Linked DNA regions of Homo sapiens: region 2 is linked to region 1. Evidence: promoter capture Hi-C in 16 types of primary human blood cells and fetal thymus (Javierre and others, 2016). All regions are on one chromosome and are shown on one strand. The core of a region is centred on a gene start or on the middle of the fragment in contact, and the rest is flanking DNA. Distances in the headings are between cores, read along the strand shown. Region 1 holds the start of AHSP (alpha hemoglobin stabilizing protein). Region 2 overlaps SETD1A (SET domain containing 1A, histone lysine methyltransferase).

Region 1 (3,048 bases), core at 62-2,561:
GCGGTAGTCAGAGTCCGAAGATCCTAGAATGTAGTTTGAGCTGGGGCTAAGGACAGGGGATTGAAAAGTCGAGGCGGTGGACCTGGCGCAGGATGAACAAGACTGGGAGACTTCCAACAGTTTCCTCCTCGACAAGCAGGTCACAGGACAATGTCTGGAGGACTTCTATCCCCCTTTCTTGTTTCTGCCACCCCCTCCCCTGCAGCTCTGCACTCTCTCTAGTCCCGCCTTCCTGGCCCTCGTTCAGCCTGTTTTAGTTTAGAATCGCTGCCCGGTGGTCACTCAAGGCTGCTAACCTCTGCTGTAAGGAATTAAGCTTCCAAGAGCATATCTAAGAAGGAGGGCGGAAGGAAAGGGACCGAGTGCCTCCACATGTCAGGACAGACCATGAAAGAGAAGCCAGGAAGTCCAACAAAACCAGCACTGGTCTTTATTGAGGTGTCAGGGTAGAGTGGCAGGAGCACAGCCTAAGGACATGAAGGTCAGAGTTTCTCAGAGAGGAGGGGCTGGGTCCCTGAGCTAGGAGGAGGGCGGTGGGTGACTCGGGAGCTCATGAGACTTCAGGAAGTCCCTGTACTTGGCCAGGAAAGGGTTGGCCAGAGTGTTCAGCTCTTGCCGAAGCTCCTGCAGAGCCTTGTCTCGCTCTTGGGGCTCCCCTGTCACCTGCTGCCTGTAATAGTTGATGTAGAAGTTCATCCAGTCCTCCACCACAGTCACCATGTCTTCTTCAGAGACGAGAGGATCATTGAAGACCTGGGGGGTTGCGGAGAGGCAGTTGGCAAGGGAGAATGTGGTCAGCAATGGGATTCGGGAATACTAGAATAGTGCCACAGCACCAACTCTCACATTCTCTTTCCTCTGCATTGTATCCCGTGTCTCTCGTTGTTTCCATCAACTCCACCATTACTTCACCAGCTCCAATTATCCTCTTCCTCCACTTCCCCGGCACCCCCCAGTCTCCAGGCCAGTCCTTTGAAATGGAAAGCTTGGACTCACCTGCTGATTCAGCAGAACGCTGAACTCCTTCAATCCTGCGGAAATGAGATCCTTATTGGCCTTAAGAAGAGCCATCTGCCTGGGTAGAGAAAAGGGTAGAATTTACATATCTGTTTCCCTCCTCACTGGGTATTTCCCCCAACCCACTTCCTCCCCTTAAAAATCCCTCCTGCCCTGCAGGGCTATCTCCTTTCCAAAACCTTTCACATCCTGCCCTGCTCTGAGGTCACGATTTTCCCAGGTTGGGCTCACCTTCAGGTCTAACAGGCTGTATATGTCTCACCCACACTCTTGAGGGTGCGTGAATCTCTCTGTGCCAAGCTATAGATGTAGGCAAGGAGTCAAGTGTCAGCCTAAGATAGAAACGCCCTGCATCTAGGTCCTGAAGGAGGGTGATAGGTCATTCTAGGGAGGAGAAGAAGGGAGAGGCTTCCCTGAAGGTAGAAAGATAACAAGGCCAAAAAAAAAAAAAAAAAAGATAAATGAGGAAACCCAGGAAATGCAAGAAGGCAAGAGCCAAACCAGGGGCATGTTCCTGCTTTTTGCCCCATATTTCAGTATCCAGGCTCGAAATGCTATGGAAATTGACGTTTACTGAGCCCTATTACATGACAGAGGCTTTTGTGTAATCACAACGATGTGATCGCAATGATTCTCCCAATTCGGAGATGATGTATTAATAGCAGCTTGCATTACATTTATTCATTTGTGCCAAGCACTGTTTCAAACATGTACAAAATATTTATCCTATAAAATTTCTTTTTAGACACATTTTGCAGATAAGCCACCTGTAAGCGTGTGGACTGAACTCCACCACGCTGTGCTCCATAAGAATGGAGATAAATAGCCGGGCGTGGTGGCGGGCACCTGTAGTCTCAGCTACTTGGGAGGCTGAGGCACGAAAATCGCTTGAACCCAGGAGGCAGAGGTTGCAGTGAGCCAAGATCACACCACAGCACTCCAGCCTGGGTGACAGGGCGAGACTCCATCTCAAAAGAAAAAAAAGAATGGAGATGGATTTGTCTTGTTTACTACCCTGTCAACAGGTACCCAATAAAGCAGAAATACTCTTTTTCCTCTTTTTAAATATTTTTCCAGATATTTTCCATTTTCAGTAGATGTTTCTCAAATTTCAAAATCACTATATACTAATTGAAATAATTAAAACAATACAAAAACGTACACTGAAAAACTGAATCATTTTTGCCCCCTCCAAAGTAACCAGCATTAAACATTGTATATTTCCTGTCACTTTTTTTTTCCATTCAAAACCCAACATTCATAGGTGCCTATACACTCATAAAGCTTTGTTGATTTGCCTTTTTGGTTGTAGCATTTTTTAATCAATATACAGCAAAACTGACTTCCTTTTGGTGTACAGTATATTAAATTTTTTTTTTTTGAGAGGGAGTCTCCCTCTGTGGCCCAGGCTGGAGTGCAGTGATGCGATCTCAGCTCACTGCAAACTTTACCTCCCAGGTTCAGGCGATTCTCCTGCCTCAGCCTCCCAAGTAGCTGGGATTACAGGCGTGCATCACCACGCCTAGCTAATTTTTGTATTTTAGTAGAGATGGGGTTTCACCATGTTGGCCAGGCTAGTCTCGAACTCCTGACCTCAAGTGATCGACCCACCTTGGCCTCCCAAAGTGCTGGGATTACAGGTGTGAGCTACCGCATCTGGCCTAGTTTATTAATTTTATAACAGATTTGTGTAACTACAAACGCAGTTAAGATACAGAATGTTTCTGTCACCCAAAAACCACTCCTTCACGTTACCCTTTTGTAGCCACCCCTACCCTCACCCATAACTTCTGGCAACCACTTATCTGTTCATCACTACAGTTAAGCCTTTTTCAGGATGTCATATAAATGGAATCATACAGTATGTAACCTTTGAGACTGACTTTTTTTGGTCAGCATGATGTTCTTGAGCTCCATCCAAGTTGTCACAAGTGTCAGTGGACACATTGCATTGTATGGATGCACTGTAGTTTGTTCATTCAGCCACGGAAGGACATCTGGATTGTTTGTACTTTGGGGCAAGTGTGAATA
Region 2 (3,400 bases), core at 825-3,324, 560 kb after region 1:
AGGCTTAAGAAAAATTAGGAGGAAGAACTTATTCAACTGGGCACTTTCTCCTTAATTTACTTGAGAAGAGACCAACCCATTTTACTTTAGTATGCAGCTTAGCCTGGGGTTCTGTAAACCACCATGACGGTACAGTTTGAAGTGTGTCAGACAATCAATGTCTCTAGAAGGTAGTGACAGGAGATGGTGACATTTTCTTTGTATGTTTTTCTAATAAAGTCACACACTTGTACACAATAAATGCAAGCACCACTGTTTTCTCTCTCTCTCTCACACACACAGCGATCTAACCGACAGCCCTGTGGCACCTACCTGCAGGCCTTGCTGGAGACGCCTCCTGTTCGGGCAGGGGTGTGACTGGGGAGCCTGCAACCCTTTCCGGCACTGGCACCTCCACAGGTGCTGGCGTGGGCACTGGGACTTCTCTGGGGGGCGGGGAGGCTGAGGGAAGGGCTGCTGGCCGCTCCTCTTCCTCTTCATCTTCAGAGGAGGACTCAGAGGATGAAGAGGACGAGGAGGATGAGGACGAGGAGGAGGAGGAGGATGAGGAGCTGGAAGAGCTGCTGCTCTCGGAGTCTGATGTGCTGTCATTTTCGCCATCTGAGTCAGCATACAGAGAACATTTGGAAGACGAATCGCTTTCCTCGTCCTCGCCTGGAAATCCAGAAGGGGCAGTCAGGAGAGGTGGGCAGACCTCACTTGGCCAGCCGTGGGCTCCTCACTCACTCCCTGCTGTGGATGCTGGGCTCTGGGCTAGGGACGGGGAAGTCCAACAGACCAAGGAGCTGCATAAGCAAACCATTTTCACTGTGAGATAAACATCAGCATGCGGGGAGGATGGCAAAGGAAGCCCCAGACTCTGTCTGAAGAGGCCCGAAAAGGAAAGCATCCCAGGGGACAAGCTGAACTCAAGGACAAGGAGTCCACCACACAGACATGGGGACTGCACAGGGATGTCGGAAGCAAGAGGAAGTGGAGGCTTGGAGACTGGGAAGCAGGCTGCTCTGGCACTCAAACCTTCCTAAAGTGGGTCTCAGGACCCAGTCTGGACGAAGGATTGGGTGAAAAAGGATTCTGGGCTGAAAAGGTTAAAAAACACGACAGGCTCTATATTCTGAGACTGCTCATGTACGGGAAGGACTCGAAAAAACTGAAGAATTTCACAGTTTTTGAGGAACAGAATTGGATAAGTTAGACTAGAAGGTGGTGGCAGCTGGGGAGCGGACTGGAGGAGGGCGAGATGGAGCTGAACAGAGCAGGGCCAGGAGATAAACGGCCCATGGTGTTGGCCTGGGGGGACACCCTGTGGAGAACAAGTTGCCAGGAAGGACCTTATGGAGGGAAGTCACAGGGTCAGGAGTGCATTTTAGGAAAGAGATTCTATAAGCAGTTTGGAAAATGGACTGGAACAGAGGGAGAAGGACAGAAAGAGAGACAGGGAAATCAGTCAAGACTGCTGCAAGAGGCTGCGTGCAGTGGCTCACAGGTGAAAGCCTAGCACTTTGGGAGGCCGAGGTGGGTGGATCACTTGAGGTCATGAGTTTGGGACCAGCCTGGCCAACATGGTAAAACCCCATCTCTGCTAAAAATACAAAAATTAGCCAGGTGTGGTGGCTCACACCTGTAATCCCAGCGCTTTGGGAGGCTGAGGCAGGAAAATCGCTGGAACCAGGGAGGCGGAGGTTGCAGTGAGCCAAGATCACATCACTGCACTCCAGCCTGGGTGACAAAGCGAGACTCTGTCTCAAAAAAAAAAAAAAAAAATCTGGGTGTGGTGGCTCACGCCTGTAATCCCAGCACTTCCAGAGGCTGAGGTGGGTGGATCGCCTGAGCTCAGGAGTTCAAGACCAGTCTGGCCAACATAGTGAAACCCTGTCTCTACTAAAAATACAAAAAATTAGCTGGGGGTGGTGGTGGGTGCCTGTAATCCCAGCTACAACGGAGGCTGAGGCAGGAGAATCTCTTGAACTCAGGAGGCGGAGGTTGCAGTGAGCCGAGATTGCGCCATTGCACTCCAGCCTGGGCGACAAGAGCGAAACTCTCTCAAAACAACAACAACAACAACAACAAAAAACAAAACAAAAAAAGCGTTCTGCCAGGCTGTCCTTTTGGACAGCTATGTCTCAGCAGAAGAGGGAGCAGGAGGGAGCATTTTGAGCACTGAGCTTATTGCTGTCAAGGGGCCAAGGGTTCCTAAGAATGTGGCCCAAACAGATGCCCTTGCAGAAGGCAAAGGTGACCCACAAGCCCAGCAGGAAGGTCATGTGGGCTCAGAAAAGGGCTAGCCAGGCAGCCGAACCCCTCCTCCGAGCCCAAAGTCGATTTCACTGTCTTGTGCTCACCATCCGACACCTCTGTCTCCTTCTTTGTGGTATCCACAGCTTCCTCTCGATCTTCATCTTCCTCATCTTCCTCGTCATCCTCCTCATCCTTAAGAAAAAAGACAAATGAGGACTAACAGGAAGGGGACAACTGGTCCTACACCAGGCACAGCTGCCTGGGCTCCAACCACAAAGATGCTGGCTATGGGAAGTAGGCTTCGGCCAGGAGCCGGCGCCCGGGCCCTCACCTTCTCCGAGGAGGACTCCTGGGATGCCTCCTCCCCTTCGCTGTCCAGAGCAAAGGACTTGCGGTGCTTGCCCTGGGTCTTGCCTCGCTCTTCGTCCCGCTTCGGGGGCTTGGTCCCCGGACGTCCTGGCTCTCCAGCCTCCTTCTCTTGTTCAGGGTCTAGGCCAGCAGAGTGGTAGTTGGGGAAATTTACCATCAACCACAAGATACTTGCCCTGTGCAAGGGGCTTTACATATACTATTACCAATCTTCCTGATGGTCTTCATTTCACAGATGAGAATTTGGAAGCTCACCAGAGGAACTCAAACACCTCAGTTACCTCATGTTTCATAGTTTTGTATTTGTTTTTGTTTTTGGGACGGGGTCTTGCTCTGTCACTCAGGCTGGGGTGCAGTGGCATGACCACAGCTCACTGCAGCCTCAACCTGCTGGGCTCAAGCGATCCTCCTGCCTCGGTCTCCTGAGTAACTGGGACTATACAGGGGCATGCAATCATACCCAGCTAATTTTTAAAAATTTTTGTAGAGACAGGGTCTACCTATGTTGCTCAGGCTGGTATTGAACTCCTGGGTTCAAGTGATCCTCCTGCCTCAGCCTCCTGGAGTGCTGGGATTATAGGCGTGAGCCATCGTGCCTGGCATATATATATATATTTTTTTTTTTGAGACGGAGTCTCGCTTTGTCGCCAGGCTGGAGTGCAGTGGCACAATCTCAGCTCACAGCAGCCTCTGCCTCCCGGGTTCAAGCAATTCTCCTGCCTCAGTCTCCCAAGTAGCTGGGACTATAGGCACCCGCCACCACGCCTGGCTAATTTTTCTATTGTTAGTAGAG

Evidence for each region. Contacts are between HindIII fragments. The CHiCAGO score rates a contact against its expected background, and 5 or more counts as called.
Region 2: a contact is called between a fragment that was not itself captured here and the fragment with the promoter of AHSP in region 1, in 1 of 17 cell types (total CD4 T cells). The highest score is 6.0, in total CD4 T cells.

The regions. Positions count from the first base shown.
Region 1 is chr16:31,526,163-31,529,210 of GRCh38, reverse strand. AHSP (alpha hemoglobin stabilizing protein) reads right to left here and starts at 1,311. Exons shown (of 3, transcript NM_016633.4): 1 at 1,249-1,311; 2 at 997-1,075; 3 at 408-753. The coding sequence starts at 1,071. The coding sequence ends at 520. The HindIII fragment of the contact is 1,316 bases long and covers 988-2,303 here.
Region 2 is chr16:30,968,632-30,972,031 of GRCh38, reverse strand. SETD1A (SET domain containing 1A, histone lysine methyltransferase) reads right to left here. Exons shown (of 19, transcript NM_014712.3): 11 at 2,570-2,727; 12 at 2,343-2,430; 13 at 313-654. Among named protein-coding and RNA genes, the nearest start is that of SETD1A, 13 kb to the right of the region's middle. The HindIII fragment of the contact is 6,620 bases long and covers 1-3,400 here.